2 separate regions of the Homo sapiens genome follow, and region 1 is linked to region 2. Evidence: promoter capture Hi-C in human tissues and cell types (Jung and others, 2019). All regions are on one chromosome and are shown on one strand. The core of a region is centred on a gene start or on the middle of the fragment in contact, and the rest is flanking DNA. Distances in the headings are between cores, read along the strand shown. Region 1 has its middle 6.2 kb from the start of TOP1MT. Region 2 holds the start of NRBP2 (nuclear receptor binding protein 2).

The links. The method cuts DNA at HindIII sites, captures the fragments that hold promoters and counts their contacts. A contact is called where the count stands out against the background at its distance.
Region 1: a contact is called between a fragment that was not itself captured here and the fragment with the promoter of NRBP2 in region 2, in 2 of the 25 tissues and cell types used here (dorsolateral prefrontal cortex and spleen).

The regions. Positions count from the first base shown.
Region 1 is chr8:143,337,653-143,344,437 of GRCh38, reverse strand. It overlaps a transcript of TOP1MT not described here. Among named protein-coding and RNA genes, the nearest start is that of TOP1MT, 6.2 kb to the right of the region's middle. RefSeq lists an enhancer at 4,564-5,301. The HindIII fragment of the contact is 8,640 bases long and covers 82-6,785 here.
Region 2 is chr8:143,836,797-143,844,556 of GRCh38, reverse strand. NRBP2 (nuclear receptor binding protein 2) reads left to right here and starts at 3,584. Exons shown (of 18, transcript NM_178564.4): 1 at 3,584-3,851; 2 at 4,328-4,450; 3 at 4,527-4,628; 4 at 4,732-4,821; 5 at 5,008-5,048; 6 at 5,149-5,243; 7 at 5,362-5,385; 8 at 5,457-5,540; 9 at 5,619-5,674; 10 at 5,782-5,877; 11 at 6,802-6,934; 12 at 7,048-7,150; 13 at 7,258-7,308; 14 at 7,383-7,518. The coding sequence starts at 3,723. MIR6845 (microRNA 6845) reads left to right here and starts at 6,741; the gene lies at 6,741-6,801. RefSeq lists enhancers at 2,237-2,966, 2,967-3,697, 7,009-7,736 and a silencer at 3,123-3,682. The HindIII fragment of the contact is 10,207 bases long and covers 1-7,237 here.

The DNA of each region.
Region 1 (6,785 bases), core at 3,152-5,651, 500 kb after region 2:
GGGCCAGCCCAAAGCCTCCTGAGCTCCTGCCACTGCTACTGAGTGCTTCCTAGCCTGTCCCTCTGGTGTCCCGCCACTCCTTCTTCCTCAAGCAGGAGGGCTGAGCTGGGCTGGGGCAGAGGGGGCCTCCCACGGCTTCCCTGTGGGACTCTAGGCCTCTGCAGTCAGCACATCCTGAGAGGACCGTGGGTGTCTGCTGCCCTTCCCTCCCTAGTCCTCTCGTTTCGGTGAAGCGGCTCCTTCTGTCTTCTCAAGCACAGACCTTGGTGTCATCTTTGAGGGCCCCATCCTTGAGGGCCTAGATTCCACATGAAATCCATCTATGAATCCTGCTTTCCAGCTGTGTTACAACAGGGCCTCCTCTCACCTTTCTCGGCTGGCCCAGGCCTCTGCCTCAGTAGGGCTCTAACATGATTTTCAGAAATCTCACAGGTTTTTCCTTGCAAGACGCGTGTTTCACTGTGTCTCCAGTCTGCATGGATGTGGGCGTGTGTTGTGATGGTCAGATGGTGGAGTGAGAGCAGCCATAGTGTGAGGTGTGGGTGAGGGTGGCCAGTCAGCCGATGAGTGGGAGCGTTCAGACCGGGGTGCCTGGTGCCCCCATAACCTCCTCGGGGTTCCCAGGGATGGCGCCTCTGACCCAGCGTGCAGCCCGAGGTGGGCCCCGTGCCATTCCCACTTAAGCGAAGTGTCTGTTCCTCTCTCTGTTCAATGTGGGTTTTGTTTCTGAATATATTTTCTCACACTTCTTCTTCAAAAGTTACTTTGGAAAGACTGTTTTTCCAAATTGATGATCTCTGAACTGCTGTGGTGTTGGTGGGGACAGAGATGGTCCCAGAGGGGACCTGGGAGCTGCCTTTTACTGCCTGCCCACTCTTCCCGAGGCCGGGAGGGGCCTGAGATGTGTTCGCAGCTTCTGGCCTCGGGCGGGACTTCCCACCGCCAGCTGGTGCTGTGCTCAGAGTCAGAGGTTCCTTGATGCCCAGCACGTGGGTCACCAGCAGCTTTGCCAGGTGTACTTTTGAAAAATGAGAAAAGGGTCATGAAGAGCTTGGGAGGCTTCCATGAGGTTGTTCTGACTCTCTGTTGTTAGAATGGCAACCCTAAATGAGCCGCAGAGCTGCATGTTTATGTATACATTTGAATTCTAGATTTGCACAGATCACCACGCCAGTGAAGACTAATCACCATGAAAAGCCACCCAAGAAAAAAGGCCAAGTCGGCATCTTAAATAGGAAATGAATGTGTGAACATGATTCTGATAAGCAACTTCCCAGGCACTCATGCCTGATGAATGCTTATTCTTGCAGATATGACAACACAAATGAACTTAGTGTCTGATTTTCTTCTAAGATTTTATGGTGAAATAAGTTAGCAGGCCAGGCGTGGTGGCTCATGCCTATAATCCTAGCACTTTGGGAGGCGGAGGTGGGTGGGTCACCTGAGGTCAGGAATTTGAGACCAGCCTGTCCAACATGATGAAACCCCCTCTCTACTAAAAATACAAAATTAGCCGGGTGTGGTGGTCGGGAGGCTGAGGCAGGAGAATCGCTTGAACCCGGGAGGCAGAGGTTGCAGTGAGCCGAGATCACGCCACTGCACTCCAGCCTGGGTGACAGAGCGAGACTCTGTCTCTAATAATAATAATAATAATAATAATAGAGCAAGACTCTGTCTCTAATAATAATAACAGAGCGAGACTCTGTCTCTAATAATAATAATAACAGCGAGACTCTGTCTCTAATAATAATAATAATAATAGAGCGAGACTGTCTCTAATAATAATAATAATAATAGAGCGAGACTGTCTCTAATAATAATAATAATAACAGCGAGACTCTGTCTCTAATAATAATAATAACAGAGCGAGACTCTGTCTCTAATAATAATAATAATAACAGAGCGAGACTCTGTCTCTAATAATAATAATAATAACAGCGAGACTCTGTCTCTAATAATAATAATAATAACAGAGCGAGACTCTGTCTCTAATAATAATAATAATAACAGAGCGAGACTCTGTCTCTAATAATAATAATAATAACAGCGAGGCTCTGTCTCTAATAATAATAACAGAGCGAGACTCTGTCTCTAATAATAATAATAACAGCGAGACTCTGTCTCTAATAATAATAATAATAACAGCGAGACTCTGTCTCTAATAATAATAATAACAGAGCGAGACTCTGTCTCTAATAATAATAATAATAGAGCGAGACTCTGTCTCTAATAATAATAATAACAGCGAGACTGTCTCTAATAATAACAGAGCGAGACTCTGTCTCTAATAATAATAATAATAACAGAGCGAGACTGTGTCTCTAATAATAATAACAGAGCGAGACTCTAATAATAATAATAACAGAGCGAGACTCTGTCTCTAATAATAATAATAACAGCGAGACTCTGTCTCTAATATAATAACAGAGCGAGACTCTGTCTCTAATAATAATAATAACAGCGAGACTCTGTCTCTAATAATAATAATAACAGAGCGAGACTCTGTCTCAATAATAATAATAATAACAGAGTGAGACTCTGTCGCTAATAAGAAGAAGAAGAAGGGGGAGGAGAAAGAGGAAGGAGGAGGAGGAGGAAGAAGAGGAAGAAGAAGGAAGAAGGAAGCACTAGATGGGGCAGTGGTGTCGGGATAGTGCTCTGTGACCTTCCCTTTCTGGTGTTTTGTGTCTGGGTCAGGGTGGACGCTGGCAGTATGGCCTGTTGCGGCCTGCACCTGCTCCGGAGTTGGGAGCAGCCCCAAGCTGACCCCTGGCTCCTTTGTTCATTGCCCTTGGTTTCTGCTCCTGACAGAGGCCACAAGGGCTGAGATCAAGAGGCCATTTTCCAAAGCTGAGTTAAAAGCATCTGTTAGGCCCATGGAGGGCAGCCATTGCTGGGGTGGGGAAGGTGAACCTTCCCTCCTCCTCTGGGGTCTCCGGGTGGGTATGTTTGTGGCCCTGTGGCCCCTCTCATGGTGTGTGCTCTCTGTTCTGGGCAAGGTCCCAAGGCCACACGGAGGTTCCTGCAGACAAGATGAAGATGGCCCTTGGTGGATGTGCCCGGGGTCCTGACACCCAAGAGAAGAGATAGAAGGGCATGGCCCTGCAGGCGGTGCCCAGCCGGAAGGGGGCTCTGGAAGAGGACCTGGACTGTGAGCTCACAGACACTGGCCGGGGCAAGGGCTGTGTGGAAGAGAGGCACAAACTGAGAAAAAAAAAAGAATATCCGAAGAGAAAGGGGAGAAAGGGCTTCAGGACAAACGTGTGGGGAGATGCACTGGGGCGGCAGCACGAGAAGAGGGTGGCGGGGACGCTAGGGGCAAGCCTGAGACCCTCAGCTGTGGGGAGCGGAAGAGTGCAGGGGCCGCCGTGGGAGCTGGGGAGGAGCGCGCTCTGGGCAGTGGGATAGACAGAGCAGTTCCCACAGAAGAGGTGCGAAGCGTGGCCAGGAGCAGGTGCACAGTGAGGGCATGGTGCCCACCCCAGCACGGAGGACGAGCCAGGGCCACACTGAGCAGAAAGGAGAGTTACGGGCCAGGAGACAAGCACAGAACGAGGACGAGGATGTAAAAGAAGTGTGGGTGGGAAAAACCAAGAAAGAAGAAAGTGACAAATTAGGTAGTGGCACAAAAGTGGGACAGGAGGCCTTGGTTTCCAGAAAAGAAAAGAAGAGGGAGACAGACAAAGCTGGGGAAGAGGGGACTCGAAAACCAAAGAAATGAAAAGCTCAGGACCTGGAGGAAGACAGAGAAGTGCAGTGTGGGAGTGAGCTGGACGGGGCACCACAGCCAGCGGCGTGGCCTCGCCATTGCCCTGGGGCAAAGGGTGACTGGGAGGTGGGGGGCCTGGTGAAGAAGCCCCAAGAAGAGAAAGCTCAGGGCAGCCGGAAGCCAGCCAGAAGCAGAGAGAAGTGGAAGGAGGGGGAGCCAGTTGATGCTGGGGTGTCCAGAGGGAGAGAAGAAAGATGGCCAGGAGGCAGCTAAGCCACAGGAGGAGAGCCAGAAAGGGTGGGAGAAGGCCGAAGGCAGCAGGTGGAAATGGTGTGTACCCTACCCCACCCCTTCTCTCCCTCCATGTCCTGACGGGGTGGTGGGAATGCTGTGTAGACCAGTGCTGGGAGGGGGGGAATGCTGTGCAGACCGGTGCTGGGAGGGGGGAATGCTGTGTAGACCAGTGCTGGGAGTGTGGGAATGCTGTGTAGACCAGTGCTGGGAGGGGGGGAATGCTGTGTAGACCAGTGCTGGGAGTGGGGGAATGCTGTGTAGACCAGTGCTGGGAGTGGGGGAATGCTGTGTAGACCAGTGCTGGGAGTGGGGGAATGCTGTGTAGACCAGTGCTGGGAGTGGGGGAATGCTGTGTAGACCAGTGCTGGGACGGGGGAATGCTGTGTAGACCAGTGCTGGGACGGGGGAATGCTGTGTAGACCAGTGCTGGGAGTGGGGGAATGCTGTGTAGACCAGTGCTGGGACGGGGGAATGCTGTGTAGACCAGTGCTGGGAGTGGGGTAATGCTGTGTAGACCAGTGCTGGGACGGGGGGAATGCTGTGTAGACCAGTGCTGGGAGTGGGGGAATGCTGTGTAGACCAGTGCTGGGACGGGGGGAATGCTGTGTAGACCAGTGCTGGCAGGGGTGGAATGCTGTGTAGATCAGCGCTGGGAGCAGGGGAATGCAGTTTAGACCAGCACAGGCCCACTTCCCCTCCCTGTCCCTGGTGGGGGAGGCGGGGAGTGCTGTGTAGACCAGTGCTGGGAATGTGGGAATGCTACAGTGCTGGCCTTTGCCTGCCCACTGTAGGTTGCCAGGGAGCCTGGGTGCCCCCCAGAGTGCCCTCTTGCATCGGCAGCTTTGAGCTGTGGGTTGTAGGGTACTGGGAGCAGCCAGCAGTAAGTGAGTGTTTGCTGTGTGTCTGGCATTGCTTTTGGTCAGTCCTCTATGAAGTAGGTACTGCTATGTCCATTTTTCAGATGAGGAAACTGAGGTACAAAAAGGTTAAGTAACCGGGCCAAGGTCACATGGCCACAAGTGGGCCACACTGCAGTTGTAGCCGTCACCCCTGCTGTGTCCTGTACGCAGCCACGAGCTGCGCAGCTCTCCCAGTGGAGACGTGCTGGGGGTGTGATACGCACGCCTGCTTTGAGAAGAACGATGCATACCATCGCATTAGCATATTATGTTGAATGACAGTATTTTGGTTGAAATAGTTGAAATTAAGTATATTGTTAAGGTCAAAGTCACTGTTTCTTTTGCAGTGTGGCTTCTGGATGGGGTAAACTCCACCACTGCTCGCAGCTGTGTCTGCTGGGCGGCGCCGCCTCCCACCTGGGCAGTCCCTGCATAGCCTTGGAGCTCCGGCTTCTGGGTGGGAAACGTCTTTATAGGTATCAGCTCCTGCATTCAGCACCTGTTTGATTCTGGGGAAATTCTTTAAATTTTCTAAGCCTAGTTTCTCTCATGCAAAACAGGGGTCCTCCTACCTGCTGTGAGGAAGAGTGCGTGAAGCCCTGTCCCCGCTCCCTTGGGCAACCCCTGAGTGGCCTGGGGAAGAAGAGGGCACAAGGGGAGGAGGCCGCCAACCCCAGGAATATTGGCAGACAGTTCATAGAAACCCCTTCTGGTCTGCAGGCCCAGACTCCCCAACTGTGTCTCTGGCCTTGTGCAGTGGGTGCCACTTTTCCACGCCCTCCCCAGCATGTTGACTGCAGCCACCCAGGTGTGAGGTGACCTCACTGTGGGTTGGATTTGCATTTCTCCCATGGCTGATGATTTTGAGCATCTTTTTACAGGATTGTTGGCCTTTTATATCTCATCTTTGGAGAAATGTCTATTTAGATTATTTATCCCCCTTTTTAAAATTAACATTTTTTTTTTTTTGAGACGGAGTCTCATTTTGTTGCCCAGGCTGGAGTGCAATGGTGCGATCTCAGCTCACCACAGCCTCCACCTCCCGGGTTCAAGTGATTCTCCTGTTTCAGCCTCCCGAGTAGCTGGGATTACAGGCATGAGCCACCACGCCTAGCTAATTTTGAATTTTTAGTAGAGACGGGGTTTCTCCATGTTGGTCAGGCTGGTCCTGAACTCCCGACCTCAGGTGATCCGCCCGCCTTGGCCTCCCAAAGTGCTGAGATTACAGGCGTGAGCCACCAAGCCCAGCCAAAAAAAAAATTTTTTTTTAAGAGATGGAGCCTGTTGTTCAGGCTGGAGTGCAGTAGCCTGATCATAGCTCACTGCAGTCTTGAACTCCTGGGTTCAAGCAATCCTCCCACTCAGCCCCCTGAGTAGCTAGGACTACTGTAGCAGGACACGTTGCAGACAAAACCTCTCGGACACCGGTTTTAGGGAATAAGAGGTTTTAATCAGCTGGGAGCATCAGTAGAATCGCCTCTCAAGATCCGGGCTCCCCGAGGTCCAGATTCCTGTCCCTTTTAAGGGCTTACAACTCTAAGGGGTCCATGTGAAAGGGCCGTGATACATTGTGCAAGTGGGGGCTACGTAACTGGGGCCGCATGCACCGGTGATCAGAACAGAACCAAACAGGGAGTTACGCAATGCTTCCTCATAAGAAGTCTGGAATCTGTAGATAACAGAAGCGATTAGGTCCGGGCCGATCTTTAACTACCAGGCCTGGGGTGTGGCGCCGGGCTGTTTGACTATTGAATTTCACTTCTGCCTTTTCTTTAACTCCTACTTTTTCTTTTCTTTGAGGCAGAAATTAGGCAGAAGACAATATGAGAGGTGGTCTCCTCCCTTACTACAGGTGTACACCATCATGCCTGGCTAATTTAAAA
Region 2 (7,760 bases), core at 2,335-4,834:
CCCTTCCCTGCCTGGCAGCCGAGGCAGAGAGAGAGAGGAGACAGAGAGAAAGACAGCCTACGCCATTATTTCTGCATATCAGAGACTTTTAGTACTTTCACTAATTTGCTACTGCTATCTAGAAGGCAGAGCCAGGTGTACAGGATGGAACATGAAGGCGGACTAGGAGTGTGACCGCTGAAGCACAGCATCACAGGGAGACGGTTAGGCCTCCGGATAACTGCAGGCGAGCCTGACTAATGTCAGGCCCTCCACAAGAGGTGGAGGAGTAGAGTCTTCTTTAAACTCCACCGGGGCAAGGGAGACTCCCTTTCCCGGTCTGCTAAGTAGCAGGTGTTTTTCCTTGACACTGCGCCTACCGCTAGACCAAGGTCCACTTGGCAACAGGCATCTTCCCAGACGCTGGCGTTACCGCTAGACCAAGGAGCCCTCTGGTGGCCCTGTCTGGGCATAACAGAGGGCTCGCACTCTTGTCTTCTGGTTACTCCTCACTATGTCCCCTTAGCTCCTATCTCTGTATGGCCTGGTTTTTCCTAGGCTATGATTATAGAGTGAGGATTATTATAATATTGGAATAAAGAGTAATTGCTACAAACTAATGATTAATGATATTCATATATAATCATATCTAAGATCTATATCAGTACAACTATTCTTATTTTATATATTTTATTATACTGGAACAGCTCGTGTCCTCGAGTCCCAGGCACGCCTTGACCTGTGGGTACATCCCTCCAACACTGGCCTCCATGTTCATGTGACTGTCTACCTTATTTCTCTGCACCCCAAGTATCCCTTTTCTTTCTCTGATAAGGACATCAAACATTGGATTTAGGGCCCACCCCAGCATCTCAAGATCCTAAACTTATTTACATCTGCAAAGACCATTTTTTTTTTTTCAAATAAGGCTGTGCTCCTAGGTACTGGGGATCAGGATGTAGACTTTTGGGGGACACTATGTGACCTACCACAGAACATGTGTGTCTGGTTATGGGGGCGGAGAAAGGGGAGGAAATTCATTGAGATTCTTCTGCTCAAGGCTTACCTCCTTAGGGGCTTCTCTGGACCACACCCGCCAAAACGCACCCCTGCCCACCCACAGATCCATTCAACAAGTGTTTGCTGAGGGCCTGCTGTGTGCCGGGTACCGTCCTCGCACCAGAGAAAGAGCAGGGACAACGAGCAGACACTCCTGCCCTGCGGGAGCTCGAATCGCAACAGGGACACAGACAGTGAAGAAGAGAGATGAGAAAAACCCAGATGCAAGTCAGGTGGGGTGAATACTCCGGGAAAAGTCAAGTCAAGCAGGCGAAAGGGTGTGGGGACTGTGATGTCAGGATTCGTGGTCAGGACAGGCCTCTCAGGAAGTGACCTCAGAGGATGTTTGGGAAGGGCGTTCCGGGCAAAGGTATAACCAGGGCAGAGACCCTGAGGGGAAGTGCCTGTCATGTCCGATGGCACAGGGCCGTGTACTTGGGGTGGGCTCAGCTGAAGAAGGCAGCTGACGTGAGGTAGGGTAATGGGACCAATTACTGGGCCTTCATGTTTAGGCCCTCATACCAAGTGAGAAGGGACCACTGGGGGGGCTCCCCAAAACCACCCTCAAGTTCAATGGTTCACTAGAAGGACTCACAGAACTCGGAAAGGGTACTATTTATTACAGCAATGGATGCGTTAAAATCAGCAGTGGCAAGGACTCACAGAACAGAACCCAGGACAGACCAGCACGGGTCTGCAGGTGTCCCCACCCACTGCAGGCATGGGGACAGTGCTCAACCTCCCAGCACTGAGGTGTGACAATGAGCACAGCATGTCAGCAGCCAGGGAAGCCCTCCGTACCTCAGTGTCCAGGGTTTTTATTGGGTTGGTCACACAGGCATGGCTGACCTCCCAGGTGGCTGACTTTGGCCTCCAGCCCCTGCAGAGGTCAGGCTGATGCCACATGGCCCAAGGTCCCCCCGTAGACCATATTGTTAGCACAGACCAGGGGTGTCCAATCTGTGGGCTTTCCTGGCACACATTGGAAGAATTGTCCTGGGCAATACCCTTAAATAAAATACACTTAACACTAACAACAGCTGATGAGCTTTAAAAAAAATCTCAATAAGAAAGTTTATGAATTTGTGTTGGGCCATATTCAAAGCTGTCCTTGGCCGAATGCACCCTCTGGGCTGCGGGTTGGACAAGCTTAGCATAGAATCTGGTGTGGCCGAGGTAAACACAGACATTCAAATCAGGCAGAACATTCCAAGGGCTTAGAGGGTGTCTCCCAGGAGCTGGTCAGGGCCAGTTTCAGGGTGGAGGATTTGAACACCCCAAACCTTTACTGCAGAGGGCCTCAGCAGGATCACCTGGCATTGGTGGAAACCACACACAAGGTGCCTGGTGACCAAGGCTGGTCAGAAAAGAGAGACCACAGGGGACGCAGCAGGGCCAGATGCACCTCTGCCAAAGAAAGAAAGAGGCGTCCCAAAGGGCCAGTGCATGGAGCTGCGCGGAGGGGAGGAGCGGAGTTCCAATTTGGGCTCCAGAGAGAGAAGGTAAAGGATGAGGACCCGCCGTGAAGGAGGGAGGAGACCACAGGAAGGCCGTGGGGGCTGTGGGCTGAAGGGGGTTTTAGGTGAGAATCGGGGACAGCCCCGGTGGTCGGCGTGGCTGGAGGGTGTGCTTAGAGCGGCCTCCGGAGGGAGAGGTCGTGTGAGCCGGGTGGGCTCCCCCCTCATGGTTCCACTGTCCCATGGGAGCCAGCCGCGGAAAGGAAATGCGCGTTTGAGGAGAAAAGAGAAAATCGCCATCCTGGAAAGTGAGAAGATGGGCTTGTGGGCGGGAGGAGGCACTGGTGGGCGGGCCAGGGAGAGATTCGTGGTCACCGATCAAAGTCAGCCTGGGTCAGCCTGCTGGTGGGCCTTTCCCCCGCCCTCGGTGCCCCTTCGACCTGTCCCTTGGGGGTCGGCCGGGGAATGAGTGCGTGGCCAGGAGAGCGGGTCCCGCTTTCGAGCCCGCGGGGTCTTCTGCAGCTGGAGGGTGCCGTGGGCTTGGGGGCCCCCAGATGCCCCGGGTCTTCCCCCAGATCCTAGGGGAGCAACCGCGAGAGAAGTGGGCGCTCCGGGCTCCAGGTGTCCGCAGGGCGGGGCCTCCGAGGGGGCGGGGATTTGGGGGCGGTTCCTCTGCGCGGGGCGGGGCCTCATAGGGGCGGGGCTTCGAGGAGGTGAGGCGGGGCCTGGGGTGGGGCTTCGCGGAGGACCCTGGGAACGGGCGGGGGCGGGGACTAAAACGGGGCGGGGATTCGCGGGGGTGGGGCGGGTCCTGGGGCGGGGCTTCGCGAAGGAGGCTTGGAGGACGAGGAGGGGACAGGGCCTGGGGAGGGGCTTCGCGGAGCAGGCCTGGGAGACGAGGAGGAAACAGGGACTGGGGCGGGGCTTCGCGGGGCGGGGCCTCCGGGGGGGCGGGGCCTGGGCGCGGCCCGGGCTCGGCAGCTCTCGGGGAAGCTCTGCTCTGGCTCCGGCAGGCACAGGCGGCTCGGGAGGTGCGCGCCGGCTCCGCCCCCGGGCCCCGCCCGTCCGCCGCGCGCCCGCGCCTCCCAATTCCCAGAGCCGGGGCTGGGGCTCTAGGCTGCCGCGGCGGCTCTAGGCTGGGCTGCTGGGCGCGAGGCCAGGGCGGGCCGGGAGAGGCTGCGCCGGCGGCGGATCGCGCAGAGGGCGGTGGCCTGGGCTGGCCGAACCATGGCGGCCCCGGAGCCGGCGCCGAGGCGGGCCCGGGAACGGGAGCGGGAGCGGGAGGACGAGAGCGAGGACGAGAGCGACATCCTGGAGGAAAGCCCGTGTGGTCGCTGGCAAAAGCGACGGGAGCAGGTGGGCGCGGGGGTTGGGGCACGGGGTGACACCGCCCTCCCAGAGCGGGAGGGGCCTGGAGGCTGCGCGGGGCGTGGGGGCGCTGGGAGAGCGCGGCGGCTGGAAACCTCTCCGCGGCCCCTCGCGGCCCGCGAATCAGCCACCCCTGGACCCCTTTGGCCTGGCGCTCGCCCTGGGACTCCCTGAGGGCCAGTCTCCTCCCAGGACCACCTCCCCATGCCTCTGGACTCAGCCGCTAGCTTCCTGGGGATCCCCCTCGACCCCCTGAAACCTGCTCCAAATCCCCTTAGCCCAGCCCTTGGATAGGAGCCCTTGGCTCCTGGGGGCAGCTACCCTCCAAGCCCCACCTTCCCGCAGAGTGGCTCAGGGCCTGCAGCCCACGCTTGGGCCCACTGGAAAGGTGTGGACAGGGACCAAATCCTCACCCACAACCCTGACACACACCAGGGCACACATAACCCTTTATTCACCCCCAGGTAAACCAAGGGAACATGCCAGGGCTTCAGAGCACCTTCCTAGCCATGGACACGGAGGAGGGGGTAGAGGTGGTGTGGAACGAGCTCCACTTCGGAGACAGGAAGGCCTTCGCGGCGCACGAGGTGAGACCGCTGCCCCCTCCTCATCCTGCTTGGGTGACCACCTGCTGACCACCCAGCGACCACCCTCCCTCCCCAGGAGAAGATCCAGACCGTGTTCGAGCAGCTGGTGCTGGTGGACCACCCGAACATCGTGAAGTTGCACAAGTACTGGCTGGATACCTCTGAGGCCTGCGCGAGGGTGAGCACGGGCAAGGCCCCGGGCAGGCAGAGACCACAGCTAGGTGGGGCGGGCATGGGGACGAACCCGCAGCTGGTGGAAATCCTGAGCTCGCACCGTGCAGGTCATCTTCATCACAGAGTACGTGTCATCAGGCAGCCTCAAGCAATTCCTCAAAAAGACCAAGAAGAACCACAAGGCCATGAACGCCCGGGTATGGGGAGCGGGCTGGGGCAGCCACGGGGACAGGACGGGGTTGGGGCAGCCTCGGGGACTGGGATGGTGAGGGGGTGCCCGGCGGCCTCGGACAGGGGCTGGGCGAGGATGCGGGGCGGGCTCCGCAGGCCCAGCCGCCTCTCCTGCGCCCACCCGACCGACGGAGTCGTGCGTCCGCCGCCAGGCCTGGAAGCGCTGGTGCACGCAGATCCTGTCTGCGCTCAGGTGAGGGCCTGGGCTGGCCTGGGCGCGGCGCCACCGAGCCCCCATCTCTCCAGAGCCTCCTGACCGGCTCCTCCTACTCTCCCCTCCCCAACGTCTGCAGCTTCCTGCACGCCTGCAGCCCCCCAATCATCCACGGGAACCTGACCAGCGACACCATCTTCATTCAGCACAACGGCCTCATCAAGATCGGCTCCGGTGCTGGCGGGGCAGGGCTGGGTGGGGGAACGGGGCAGGGGAAGGTGCCTGGAGCCAAGGGCAGAGGAGTTCTGATGCCCCAGCAGCTAACTCCACTCTTTCTCCCGCCCCTTGGCAGTGTGGCACCGAATCTTCTCCAATGGTAAGTGCGGACTTTGGGGGGACGGGGTCCTGGAGAGGTCCCCGCCCGCTCAGCTCTGCGCCCTCCCACAGCACTTCCAGATGATCTCCGAAGCCCCATCCGCGCTGAGCGAGAGGAACTTCGGAACCTGCACTTCTTCCCCCCAGAGTATGGAGGTGAGTGGTGCTGGGTCCGGGTGCCCCGTGCCTACCCTGCGCTTCTCTCCTACGTGTCCTGTGCTCTCTTCTGTTCAGAGGTGGCCGATGGGACCGCTGTGGACATCTTCTCCTTTGGGATGTGTGCGCTGGAGGTACTGCCCCCGCCCTCCACCTTGTGCTCTGCCCTCCTCCTAACTGTGCCCTGCCTGGCTCACCTGTGTGGTCCCTTCCCCATGCCTGACCTGGCTCTGTGCCCCAGATGGCTGTACTGGAAATCCAGACCAATGGGGACACCCGGGTCACAGAGGAGGCCATTGCTCGCGCCAGGCACTCGCTGAGTGACCCCAACATGCGGGTAAGCAGCTTGCCCTGCCCCTCCCCAGCTGGCTCACCGTGCTCAGCTAGGGCTAGCAAGGTGCTCCAGGCAGACCTGGGAGAACATCACAGTTTGTGCAGTTGAGGGGTATACCAGCTGACTGCACCCCTCCCAAAGAGGACCTCAGTGGGAGCACATACTGGTTCCAGGCCTGAAGGCCCTAAGGGGTCAGCACATTCTAAGGACAAGAAGGCAAGAGAGACCCTCCCTCTGTGGCTGCCATCACCATGCCCGTTTTATAAAGAAACCAAGGTTCAGAGGAGATGAGTCCTTTGCCCAAGGCTTTAGAGTGAGTGGTGGAGCCAACATCTGCACCTGGGTCTGCTTCACTCCAAGTCCTTGACTTTAAGCTTCCAGGAGGTGATGAGGCTCCAGCTTGTGGGGGGACATGGTGGGTGCCAAGCAGGCAAAAAGAGGTATGGGATGGAAGCTGCATCCACAGCCCCCTCTGCTCGGAGTCTAGACTTAACTCCATGGCCTCAGGAGATGGGGGTGCCTGGTCGGGGCTGGTGGCGAGCTGGAGCCGGGCTGGGCACGGATGTGGACAGAGTGGGGACCCATCAAGGTCGTCTCCAGTGTTGGGCCCGAGCTGAGCCGATCAAAAGGCCATGGGTAGGAGGCTTGCAGGTGTGACTTTAGGATCATGGCTTCTCCCCACGATTTTTTGGGGGTCGAGGGAAGCAGAGCATGGTGCTCCAATCCCAGAACCCAGCTGTCCTCAAGCTCAGAGGACCAGGTCCTGGCCTGGCTGCTGCTGCTGGGACTCCTCCCTATGGGCATCCCTGCATGTCCTGTGTGTCCCTGAGGAGGGACATGGGGAACTCAGGGGCCACCTCTCCTCGAACTGCGGGGCCAGAGCAGAGAGCCCTTGCACACCACCAGCCTCTCCTCCCTGTGCCCCAGGAGTTCATCCTTTGCTGCCTGGCCCGGGACCCTGCCCGCCGGCCCTCTGCCCACAGCCTCCTCTTCCACCGCGTGCTCTTCGAGGTGCACTCGCTGAAGCTCCTGGCAGCCCACTGCTTCATCCAGCACCAGTGTGAGCAGCAGGCCGGCCCGGGGGGTGGCTGGGGAGGTGGAGGTTGGGACGTGGAAGGGGCCCTGCAGGACCCACGGCCTGAGCACACCGCCTTGATGCTCTTGTGGCCGCAGACCTCATGCCTGAGAATGTGGTGGAGGAGAAGACCAAGGCCATGGACCTGCACGCGGTCTTGGCGGAGCTTCCCCGGCCCCGCAGGCCCCCGCTGCAGTGGCGGTGAGCAGTCAGCACCCAGAAGCCTCCCCTCCCCACACCTCCCCTCCCCGCACCTCCCCTCCCCTCGCCCCGGCCAGCCCCTCATGTGCCTCCCACTTCCATGCCAGGTACTCGGAAGTCTCCTTCATGGAGCTGGACAAATTCCTGGAGGATGTCAGGTGAGAACTGATGTAAGGTTGGGGGCCAGGCAGCTGTCAGGCCTGAACCCCCAGCCACCCTGTTGTGTCCCCAGGAATGGAATCTACCCACTGATGAACTTTGCAGCCACTCGACCCCTGGGGCTGCCCCGTGTGCTGGCCCCACCCCCGGAGGAGGTCCAAAAGGCCAAGACCCCGACGCCAGAGCCCTTTGACTCTGAGACCAGAAAGGTGAGTCCCCTCTCCTGCTGCTCAGTGCCATCCCTCAGACCTTCTAACAGCCAGATAAGAGGTGCCCCTCCTTCTCTTAGGGCCTGCATCCCCACAGCCCAGCTCTCCTCCTGGCTGCCAGAGACCAGATCCAGGCTGACCCCCTTGTGGGGGTCATGGGGGTTATAGGACAGGCTGGGCACTCTCCTTTTCCGGGAGGCTCCCTGTCCCCTCAGATCCTTCCCCTGCATCCTGCTGCCTGC